4 separate regions of the Homo sapiens genome follow, and regions 2, 3 and 4 are each linked to region 1. Evidence: promoter capture Hi-C in 16 types of primary human blood cells and fetal thymus (Javierre and others, 2016). All regions are on one chromosome and are shown on one strand. Each heading gives the region's core, a stretch centred on a gene start or on the middle of the fragment in contact. The rest is flanking DNA. Distances are from core to core; before and after follow the strand shown.

Region 1 (2,978 bases), core at 1-2,500:
TCGTGCTGGTAGTTGCAGAACTCTGGGTAGCTGGCGGTGGTGCCCATGGATTGGGTAGTGGATCGCGATTTTCTGTGCGGGAAGGCTGCGTACCTTCCCCAGAGGAGGAACTACTCCCCACGGAGGCAAATGGATTACCCCCAAACTGCTCTTGTGCGGCATTCAGCATCGGCTCTTGAATGTCAGTGTACATGCGCCGTAAAGCATTATAGCCACCTGGGATGCTTTCTAGATTGCTAAGAGCCAGGTCTTGATTTCTCATCATCTCTTGCATCATGGCTGGATTCCTGGCAATTTCGAGTGTCTGCCTCATTATGTCTGGGTTGTTGAGCAGGTGACTGATTTCTGGGTTTCTCTGAATCAATTGCTGCATCTGTGGATTAGCCATAATGAGCTGCCTCATCAGATCGGGATTCGAAAGCATGCTCTGAACAAAGGGATTTTCCATTATTTGGATCATCATCTCAGGGCTGGCCATAAGCTGCTGCTGCATCTGGCTCTGGAGCTCAGAGAAGTTGGTCGAGCTCAAGCCCAGGCTGCTAAGGCCTGCAAGTCCTCCCAGGCTCCCCAACCCAAACGGGTTGCTATTTGTGGAAATAGGTGTGGAGTTACTCCTGGGAGTCGACGCCGAGGTAGTGTTAGTTCCCGCGGCATTGCTAGGCTGCGTGGACTGGCCCTGAGGTCGGTTCTGGCTTTTGATGACAAGGTGAACAGTCAGCCCATCATGGATGCCATGCTGGATCAAGGTATCTTGATCTTTTAAGATTTTTCCGGCAAAAATCAGCACTAGCTGATCGGTTTGGGATTTGAAGCGTTTCGAAATCGCTTCCTTAAACTGCTGAACCGAGCTGTTCTCGGGCACCGCGAACTCCTCTTTCTCTTTGGGAGTCTTCACCGTGACTTTGATGATTTTAGGCTCAGCCGGGGCAGCAGCCGAGCCTTGGGCCGCAGCAGGGCCGCGGGAGGGGCGCGGGGGGCCGCTGCTCTCGCCATTCTCAGCCATGGCGGCCGCGGTGACGCAGGCGGGCAGGGAAGGCGCGGGCGGGCGAAAGAGAGAGCGCGAGGGAAGGAGGAAGGAAGGAGGCACCGCCGCAGCGGGCTGGGCCGGGTCAGGCGGGGAGCGCGGAGCACGGTACCTCTGTGATGAAGACTGCGGTTCCCTGGTCCTCCGGTGGAGAAAGGCCTGGGCGTAGGCCGCTGGCTGAGGTCTCCGCGCTCCGGTCTCTGGGCCTCCTCCGCCGCCGCCTTGTGATCCGACCGCGCGCACTCCCAGCAACTCTGGCAGCCGCTCCGCCTGCTGATCCCCGCCCCTTCCCCTCCCCCAGTTCCGCGCTCGCCTCCCCGCCCCCTCTGCTGACGCGGCGCCAGGCCTAGATTGATAGATTTGGCTCGGTCAAAATTAAAAACTTCTGCACTGAAAAGAAAAAAGGGAGAGAGAGAAACAAAGGGAGAGAGAGAAGAGAACAGAACAGTACAGAGCAGGCGAGGCAGAGAGGGTGAGACGGAGAGAAGGAGGCGGTAGAGAGTCAGCTTCTGTAAACGACATTAAAAGACCAATGGAGAATGTATATTAGCAATCTGTAAGGCAGTAAAAGGGTGAAAGCCTGAATCGAACAGATCCCACGTATAAGACGAAAAATGAATAATAAAGAACTCTGACAAAGCAAAAAGAAAAGAGGAACACCTCCAGTAGGGGAAGGGAAGAAGACAGAGCAGGAGCGTGCATTTTACAAAAGGAGTGCAAATGGCCAATAGACATTAAAAAAGGATGATTAATTTCACTACTAATAAAAAGAAATCAAGTTAAAACAATAAAATTCTACTTTTGGCTTATCATATTGGCAGGGAAAAAAATAATGGTAAACCTTCTTGTTGACAGGGACCCTAAAAAATGCCCTCTCAGGCTAGCTGAAGTGTGAATTGTTACAACCATAGGGCAATTTGAAAATATATATCAGCATTTTGAATGTTTCCACCTTTATTTAGAAATGCCTAACCTAGACACTTCGCCTAATAATCGGATGAGGATGCAAAAATATTTATGTATAAAATGTATATACATTGTAGCATTTTAAAATGTTATTTAAATATATTAACTATCTGTTTACATGAGATTAGTTGAGCACATTATCATATTACCATACAAGAAAATATAGAGTGTCTTTAAAGGTATACATGAAATAAACTGTAGTTATAGGGAAATCACAGAGTATTTTCAATTATGCCTTTGTATATTTCTGTACAGTTACAAACTATATAAGAATATATGTTCCAATATCAAAAATACAATAAATATATTTTTATTTTAAAAGCAATTTTTGAACAGTTTGTTGTATATGTAAACCGTATGTGTAAAAAAATCTGGAAGGCTATGCACAAATAAGTTAATGGCTGTTAGTACTGTTTGCTGAAATTATGAATAATTCTTATTTTCTATTTTCATAAGATTTTGAATTTTCTGATGATTTTTGTAAGTATGCACTACAGAAAGGTATTTTGGGGAAGAGTATGGGTAGAAATTGACAGGCACATAATAGTAGTGGCAAACATTGACATATTTACCTAATTTAATTACAGATTAAGTAAGAGCAATAAAGATGTAGCAATGCTGAGAAAGAGAACTTGAAAAATAGAAGAAATAATTTCAAATTTATCTATATATTTCTAACTCTAGGTTAAACCACACAGAAAATTCTTCCCCAACCCCCACCCTCTACCAAGCATCCACCAAAGCACCACTGCTTTCAACATTTAACAGCATTTCAAAGTCATTAGGTCACAAATACTTTAATAAATCTGAAGATAAGAAAAATATATATATACAGGTATGTTATATCCATCGATGGAGAAATGGAAGAATTAATATTATTTTACCTCTCTATTTTATTAATATAATTAATAAAATACAGAGGTAAAAAGATGACTAGCTTTAAATATGTTAATATGTATAGATCTAAAAAGCCAAATTAATTAGTATT
Region 2 (2,978 bases), core at 128-2,627, 810 kb after region 1:
TTATTTACTGGGAACTGCTCTTAGAGTTACATTTACCAAGGCTAATTAGCAATTACTTATGCAGTGTGTTGTGACACCTTAGTTTCTATTATTGCTATTTTTAAAATGTATTTACAAATACAATACTGGTTTTTGCATCCCCCTTTCAGGGTTATACAAACAATAGGCTCTAATATAGTTGCTAAGTTCAATTTACAAGAAAAATAAAAATACCAACATGCCTCTTTCCCTCTCCACTTCTTCATGTGAACTCCTATGTCACTGAGATGACCATAACATCTCTTCTACATTAAAAGTTTTCAATGAGTCTTTTAGAGAAAAGGATAGGATGTGAGTTTTCTCAAAAGGAAAATATCCCACATTTCATAATAAAAGTCCACAGGAAATAGGAATCCTTTAACATAAATGAACAGTTACTAGCATAAATAATCTGAACTCTCTTTTTTTTTGAGATGGAGTTTCGCTCTTGTTGCCCAGGCTGGAGTGCAATGGCATGATCTCAGCTCACCCCAACCTCCGCCTCCCGAGTTCAAGCGATTCTCCTGCCTCAGCCTCCCAAGTAGCTGGGATTATAGGCATGCGTCACCACACCTGGCTAATTTTGTATTTTTTGGTAGAGACGGGGTTTCTCCATGTTGGTCAGGCTGGTCTCTAACTCCCGACCTCAGGTGATCCACCCGCCTCGGCCTCCCAAAGTGCTGGGATTACAGGCGTGAGCCCCCATGCCCAGCCAACAATCTGAACTCTCTAATAATACATACCTGGAAAAATCTAAGTTTCACTAACTTCCAAAGAGCTACACACCAAAGGGCTTCTTTCAGGTCACTTGCTGACAATACTATTTTATAAATAAGTCTGTACATGCTAAAGTTGACAAGAGGGAAAAAGGTTCTTCCTGAAAGTAGTGACATGCTGTTCTCTGTTGCTGAAAACAAAGAACGTACAGTGTGAAGTACATCTGCAAAGCAGAAAGTTCTTACCAGAAAAGTAGCTCTCTCAAAAAGAAGTACTTCATCAGCTTCGATAATTTCAGCAAAATTCCTTAGGTTCATTTCCAGCTGCTGAACATTGGGAATCAGCTGATAAACTATGCTGGACCAAGCCTAACAGAACAGAAACACAGTGTACTATTATTAACAGCTAGTCAGTCCCAGACCTTTGAAATTAGTAAGTACACTATAATATGTGGACAGCAAAATATGATGATAATCCAGTCCCAAACAAATACTGACATTAAATATGATATAACACAAATGAAATGAGAAAATGAAGCTAGCATCTGATTTTTACCCTTGAGTTGAATTTTTTTTAAGTTCAAACACTTTTGTAAAATGCTGGAGAAACTTCTTTCCATTGATAATTGAAAGCAAACAAATATTTAATGCCATCATGTTGCCTTAGGAAAAAAGTTGAAAAATATGATCTACTTTGTTAAAAAGCTCCTAATCTAGTCACAAATATTTAAGTCCAACAGTGTAGATTTCTCTAAAGATCAGAACCTAATTATGCTATATTTAACATATACCTAAGAATCAATTTTATGAAAGTAGCAGAGCCACATAGACAAATGGCCCCTCCCCTCAATAGAATAATATACCATTAAAAGAGAAACTAGTGGCATTATCATTCCCAAAGGTTTGTTGTTATCCATATAAATTATTGATCCAATTGAATTCAAAATGGTCTACTGTGTTTTTGCCTAAAACTGACTTCATCCAGGAGTATGACTAATGTAAGCAGTTGAAATTAACCACACTCTCCCTCTATTCTTGTAGGCTCTTTTATTTGTATTTTCATTATAATACTTCCTTCACTCTCACTCCAATTTGTCTGGTAAGGTGTACTTTGTTCTTCTCTCCCCTACAAGAGGGCAGGAACCTGGTCTTAGTCATTTGTGTATCCAACAGCATCAAGCAGGTATGTAAAGAGTGCTTGTTGAATAAAACTTAATATAAAAATTTAAGTTAGCTCTATGCAACATTGATGTAAGAGACAGAAGTGCCATGTCTCTGTTCCAATTAGTTTTATTACTTAGGCATGAGGGTTCAGGTTCCAAGTTCCCAGGTCGGTGTTAATGTCACTGCTGAATTTACCTTGGAGAAGGCACCAAAGCTAACCACAGCAGAGACATTGTCACTCACAGCAGTGTTGTGATTAGCCAATTGTCTTTGGTCGTGTTATGTATTGCCATCCTTCACACCGCAGTTGGTTCTTATCAGTGCGTCATGTCCATCCTTATTCACGGTTACCTGTTCTATGGGAATAAGGCTTTGAGAGAAATTCGGCCCATATTAATCTAGAACAGTATTTCCTAGACAGGTATCTCAAAATGATCTGTTATTAGAGTGAGGCTGGGTCAACATAATATTGGGGAAAATGAATTAGTTAAAAAAAAAAAAAGCAATGGCTATTTAAAAGTCCAATGGTTTTTCTCCTTGCCACATCAGGTTTCTGTGCTTCTGGTTGTAGATACTTGTCAGATGCTGTTGATACTGAGGCTGTAGCTACCAGTGACAGAGAAGGGTGCTTTCCTACCCAGAGTCAGACTTGTCAATGGATACCAGAAGCAGTCTGAAGGGAAGGGCTAACTACAGAAGGATCCAAAAGGACCTAGTCCTTCAAATAACTAGATCAGTAGGAGAAAGGGAGGAATCAGAATAAGGAGCCTATGTGCCAATAAGGTAATTTCAGCTTCATCCATAACAAAGCTATTGTTGTAACCTCCATAATTAGTGTAAGCAGTGTGGTATCCATTCCAGCAATGGGAACAGTACTTCTGGTTGAAAGAATGCTTGTCTCCAATTTGGCATGAAAGTTGAAGCTATTATACCATATGCTAGGCATAACATGTCTGATTCTAAGACTCCTTCTCCAATCTCTTCCCTAAATATTTTCATTTTATTGCCATCCAAACTTAGGCAGACTAGCTTATATCATGTAGAAGTACCTGAATACTAGATACAACTCCAATCAGCATT
Region 3 (2,978 bases), core at 128-2,627, 720 kb before region 1:
ATGTCCCTAGGTGTGTTTTCTCATCTGTAAAGTAGAATAACAGCTGCCATATGGTGTTATGAAGATTAAATCACATATGGATGTAAAGCTTCTGTTTTTTTTTTACAATCTTAAATATTTTAATTTTATATTAATAGTTAGACCATGTTAAGTATATTGCCATTGTTGGCAACATATCACCAGAACATTTTTATCTTGCAAAATGAATACATACTATACATGAATCGACTACCTGTTTTCCCCATTGACTGGCCCTTTACAAATGCCATTCTATTTTCTCTTTTTAAAAGTGCAACTACTTTAGCTAACTCGTATAAGTGGATTCATACTTTTTATGATGGACTTATTACACTTATCATAAGACCATTAAGATTTATCTTTAAAATAAATGTTAAATTTCCTGCTTTTTAAAAGCTGAATAATATTCCAGGTTTTGTTGTTGTTGTTGTTGTTGTTGTTGTTTTGTTTTGTTATGATATGGTGTCTCATTCTGTCGCCCAGGCTGGAGCGCCACTGGAGTGCAGTGGCACCATCTTGGCTCATTGCAACCTTTGCCTCCCGGGTTCAAGTGATTCTCCTGCCTCAGCCTTCCAAGTAGCTGGTATTATAAGCACCCACCACCATGCCCAGATTGCAGGCTTTCTTCCCGGGCACGCCGCAGGATAAGGCCCATTAGCTTGGGACACTAACAAGGCTACCCCAGCCCTGCCTGAGTTCTCAGGCTGGAAGCAGCTCCACACTTCCCTGGGACAGAGCTCCCAGAGGGAGCAGGCAAGCTGACGTTTTTCCACGCTCATGTTCTCATCAGGCTCTGGAGGTAGTATAGAAGTTGGGGACTGACGCGAACCCACAGCACAGCGCAGTCACCTTAAAGGAAAAGCGGCCAGACTGTTTTCACGTGTGTCCCCACCTCCGCTGCTCTTCACTGAGCAGTGCCTCTTGACCTGGGCCCCAAGCACAATCACTCTGCTTCCACATAAACACTTTACTCGGTAGCAGCTCTGCGTTTCTGAGGAGGAAATCCCAGAGACAACCCACAGCTTCTCTGCCATTGCAGCTGCAGTGGTACTGTTCTGCTGCATTCAGGCCAGGGAATAAAACAAAAGGTCGAGTTGCTACACTGGAGCCTCCAGCACGCTGCAGCCACCATACAGAGAGGAGCCCAGTCTCTCTTCCATGTAGGCTCCCACCCCACACTCTTCACCAAGCAGGGCCCCAAGCCTGGATCTACACAGACGTCCCACCCTTGGCAGAGCATTCCCTCTGCTAGTGGCTTTGTATTTCCCTGGGGGAGGGGCTCCCAGAGGCAACTGACAGCCCCTCTGCCACTGCCATTGCAGTGGTTCTTCCCCTGCTGCCCTCAGGCTGGAGAAGAAATGAAGATCCTGAGGGCTTTACTCACATTTCTAGCAAGACACAGTCACCATACAAAGAAGAGCCCACTCTCTCCTCCCTGTTATCCCTCGAACCCCGACTCTTCCCCAAGCGGGGTCCCCACCTCAGGCCAACAGCACAGTTGCCTCACCCCCTGGCTGAACATCCCCAGTAGCAGTGACTCTGTGTTTTTTTCTGAGATGGAGGTCCCAGAGACAACCAAAAGCCTTTCTGCCCCTGCCACTGCAATGGTAGTGCCCTTGCTGCCCTCAGACTGGGAAAGAAGCAAAGACGCACAGTGCTTTAACCACACCTCCAGAAAGCCACAGCCACCATAAGGAGAAGAGGCTGGTCTGTTCCCTCCGCAATCCCCTTCCCATCCCCAGGCAGGTTCCCATGGCTTGGGCCAAAAACGCAGCTGCCCCACCCTTGACTGATTGCACCAGTTGATATCCGCTCTGAATTTCTCTAGGGTAGAGCACCAAAAGACACGGGAAAGACCCTCTGCCATAGCCACTGCCAAGGTCTTGTCCCCTGCTGCCTCAAAAGTGGGGAAGGAAAATAAAGATGAGCTCACCACAAGGTTGTGCTGTACAGCTCGCAAGTGCCAAACAGAGGTCTACAGACAGCACTTCTGTGGGAGAGGAGCCTACACTTTCAGAACAGTAACAGAAAATTTGATGGCAATCATGAGGAAATACAGGCGAGCCACATGGCTAAGCAAGAGCGTACCTATTAACCATTACATTTAAGCACCATCTAGTGGATTACAACCAAATTTCAACACCGAAAATACTGTTAATATATCCCCCAGTGAAACCAAGGACAAGAACTAAGCTACAAATAAAGATCCTGCAAAAATGCTTAGACTGCTGAAAACATTCAGAAAAGAAGTCAACTGATTATACTCATATTACACTACAGTTGAAGGAACATCAACCCACACAGAAAGAATGAAACCATCAACGGAGTAAACAGACAACCTACAGAATGGGGGAAATATTCACAAACATCAAACAAAGATCTAATATCCACAATCTCTAAGAAACTTAACAAGCAATAAACAAATAACCCCATTAAAAAGTGAGCAAGAAACATAAACAGACACTTCTGAAAAGAAGACATACAAGTGGCCAAAAAACATTAAAAAAATGCTCATCATCACTAATCGTCAGAGAAATGTAAATCAAAACCACGAAGAGATACCATCTCACATAGTCAGAATGGCTATTATTAAAATGTCAAAAAACTAACACATGCTGGTGAGGTTGTACAGAAAAGGGAAAGCTTATACACTGCTATAGGCGATATAAGTTAGTTCAACCATTGTGGAAGGCATTTTGTTTATTTCTCAAAGAACTGAAAGAAGAATTACCATTTGACCAAGCAATCTCATTACTGGGTATACACACAAAGGAATATAAATTGTTCGACCACAAAAATACATGCATCTGTATGTTCTTTGCAGCCCTATTCACAATAACAAAGACATGTAATCAACCGAAATGCCCATCAACATTAGACTGGATAACAAAAATGTGGTACATATACACCATGGAATACTACACAGCCATAAACAGGAATGAGATAATGCCCTTTGGAGA
Region 4 (2,978 bases), core at 269-2,768, 550 kb before region 1:
AAGAACCTTAGAAGAGGTCCAGAGTAAAGAGGAGAAGGATCAACCTGACAGGGTCTGTGGAGAGGATAAAGGATACTCAATGGAAGAGGCTATGTGGGTTAGAGTGTTAGAGAGGTTAGAAGAAGAGGGCCACTGAGGAAGAAGGAGTTCAAAGAAGAAAGACTGACAGAGGGATTGGGAATACAGGAAAAGAGTTGTGGGGTGTGGGGCCCATGAGAGATCGGAAGGCCCAGGAAAATGTTGGACTTCTGGTAGTGTCCACATTGCTCTTCCTGGCTCTATGCACAAAGGAAGTGGCATCTGTCAAAGATGCCAGATACATTGGAGGTTCCCTAGAAGGGCATTCTGACAAGGATGACTCAGTAAGGTTAATCAGGAGGAAAGTTTATACCCGTAAGGCTTTTCCTGTTTCAGGGAGTTCAGGACGCTCCTACCCAGCAGAACCCCAACCCTCAGCCTGAACACACTAACACGGTTCCCCACATGTGCTGGGCTGCGGGCTGCCTCCTCACATTTGTCCTGCGCTAGATAAACAATATTGGTAGAGGATGGGTTAGTGGGTCAGAACTTAAGAGATGTGCCATCTTGCATTTGGAAAGTACTTTACCCAGAAAAAAATGGAACCTTACTGAACTCAGGTACAGCAGTCTCATCACACCGGTTCCTTCTGCTGGAATGTTTGTTTTCTATCTAGAGACGAGGGGCATCAGAAGATTGAGCCTAGTGTTTCTCTCCAGGTTATGGGGAGTTCCTGACTGTCCACACTTCTTTCAGCAGCTGCCTGAAACCACAGGTGGTTCCGACAAATAATCCACTAAAAGAGGCCTGCTGTCCCAAGAATCCACATTCTGGTTAGACCTTCCCCACAAAGCTGGTGTCTGCAGACCCCTCACAGGCACCTGTTGGCCAGTCTTGCCTACCCCAGCTCACAGAGACCTGTGATGGAATTCTGGTCAGCTCTTTGTTTCCAGGTGAGGCAGATGCCATGGGGCAGTTGGGCTGGGAGTTGTGACTTGGTATAACTAACTCATTCAGCTGTATAATGTCACAAAAAAGGGTCAAGGCTGGTGGGGAGAGGGAGCAGCAACCCACAAAAAGTCCCTCAGAACTATGGTGTCTGATGCAAAGATAGATCTGTGTCTTTCTCTTCCTCCCCTCCTTGCCTTTCCCAAGTCTTTCTCCTGTAGCCCATCTGAAAACCCTCTCACTGCTTTCTGCAACCACACCGTTCACTAAATTATACCTCTGACCCCAAGAAAGAGTGCTGGTGACTCCCTGCTGCCCAGGTTACCCTAACTCCATGCATAGTGGGAGATGCAAGGAGCTTCCAGGAGTTGAAAGAAGGTGGTAAATAGAGTTTATTCTCTCCACCCAACATGGCCTGAGGCTGACTGCCTCAAGAATTACACAAGGCAAGCCTACCTCACCGTAGCAAGGATTAATTTTCTTGTGTACATCACACAATTTCGTCCAACAAAATCCAGCAAGGTGCCCAGGAACCAGTCTCAGACAGCTGCCAGGTTATTTTCATCTTTGTGTTTTTATTGTTTTCTATTTTTAATTAGGTACTTTAGACATTTGAGAGATTTCACACGATGAAAATTTATGTCTCTGGCATCTCCTGAAATTGAAACAGAATGACAACAACAACAAAAATGTGAGGATCAGGGCCCTCATTCCAAAAAGGATACATGCAGCTGGGCCTTAGGTAGGTCTCAGTCCAGTTTAGACTCCGAATACCCTCTCCAGTTGGCCACACCCCCAGCTGGCCTGCTTTACTCTAATAAAATGCACAGTCGTTCCCTGGAAGCGTTTGCACTTGTAACTGGGGCCACACCCTGGAAAAACTGCCCCTTTGACTTGCTTTGATCCCATTTGCTTTTTAATTTACTTGTTTTATCTTTACCCCACAAATACTTACTTCAGGTGGGCTCTCTGCCAGGCACTCTTCTAGGCACAGATACTGATAATGTAATAATGAACAAAAAAGCAAACTAAAATTCTTATCCTCATGGAGGTTTCATTTTAGTGTGGGGGACAGACAGTAGCCAAAATAAGTAAGCAATTATAATGTATTTTCATAGTGTCTAGTGTTAAATAGAAAAACATAAAGCAAGGAATTGGGATAGAAAATTTCAGGAGGGAAGCTGAAACTAGATAGACAAGGTATCCAGGGAAGGCCTCACTGAGAACTTGGCTTTTGAGTCTCACCTGAAGGCAATGGGAGAACTGACCCTGTAGCTGTCTGGGGAAGGAGCATTCCAGATGGAGGGACAGCACGTGCTGAGGCCCCAAGACAGGTTTAGGCCTGGCATGTTTGAGGAGCAAGGAGGATGTTATCATGTCTGGAGCTGAGTGAACAAGGCAGAGAAAAGCAGGAGGTGGTTTCAGAGATGTAATGGGGATGAGGGAGAGAGGCAGACAGCTTATAGCCCTGTAGGTTTCAAAATGCAATTTGGCTTTTACATTGAGTGTGATGCAGAGCCATCCATGTATTTATAGTGGAGGGCATACAAGATTTGTCTTAGTTTTACAGGATCACTCTGACAACTTGCAGAATAGTTTTTATTAGTATATGATGAATAAAGGGAGAATAATTAGTAGGCTATTCCAATTATGTAGATTACAGATAATGGTGGGTTTCAGTACCCTGATGGTAGTAGACATGGTGAAAATTAGTTGGGTCTGGCTGTTTTCAGGTATACCCTGCATGTTTTCCTATTTGATAATGCTGTGCAGTGGAAGATAAATATGAGTCCAGTACAACACCACATTTTCTGGTCTTCTTTTGAAGATTTTCTTAAGAGAAACAAATTCCCAGTGAAAACCATACATGACAAGTTGGTCTCTGTACTCAGTGCCTGGATTGGGTATAGAATACTGATGAAGTGATCTCTAGAGAATGAGAAACCAACCCAGAGACTCATTGATAAATTGTTGTTTGCCCCTCTGGATAACTCCCCTAGCTATTATGTAGG

What was found. The method cuts DNA at HindIII sites, captures the fragments that hold promoters and counts their contacts. A CHiCAGO score of 5 or more calls a contact.
Region 2: a fragment that was not itself captured here is called in contact with the fragment with the promoter of UBQLN2 in region 1 in 1 of 17 cell types (naive B cells); the score reaches 5.1 in naive B cells.
Region 3: a fragment that was not itself captured here is called in contact with the fragment with the promoter of UBQLN2 in region 1 in 1 of 17 cell types (non-activated CD4 T cells); the score reaches 6.8 in non-activated CD4 T cells.
Region 4: a fragment that was not itself captured here is called in contact with the fragment with the promoter of UBQLN2 in region 1 in 1 of 17 cell types (non-activated CD4 T cells); the score reaches 5.3 in non-activated CD4 T cells.

The regions. Positions count from the first base shown.
Region 1 is chrX:56,561,899-56,564,876 of GRCh38, reverse strand. UBQLN2 (ubiquilin 2) reads right to left here and starts at 1,250. Exons shown (of 1, transcript NM_013444.4): 1 at 1-1,250. The coding sequence starts at 1,003. RefSeq lists enhancers at 254-313, 324-523, 920-1,547. The HindIII fragment of the contact is 11,191 bases long and covers 1-2,978 here.
Region 2 is chrX:55,751,517-55,754,494 of GRCh38, reverse strand. It overlaps RRAGB (Ras related GTP binding B), which reads right to left. Exons shown (of 10, transcript NM_006064.5): 7 at 981-1,103. Among named protein-coding and RNA genes, the nearest start is that of RRAGB, 35 kb to the right of the region's middle. The HindIII fragment of the contact is 4,544 bases long and covers 1-2,978 here.
Region 3 is chrX:57,281,881-57,284,858 of GRCh38, reverse strand. It overlaps a transcript of FAAH2 not described here. Among named protein-coding and RNA genes, the nearest start is that of FAAH2, 3.3 kb to the left of the region's middle. The HindIII fragment of the contact is 2,573 bases long and covers 91-2,663 here.
Region 4 is chrX:57,116,565-57,119,542 of GRCh38, reverse strand. No RefSeq gene overlaps it. Among named protein-coding and RNA genes, the nearest start is that of SPIN2B, 3.5 kb to the left of the region's middle. RefSeq lists an enhancer at 1,050-2,249. The HindIII fragment of the contact is 3,477 bases long and covers 1-2,978 here.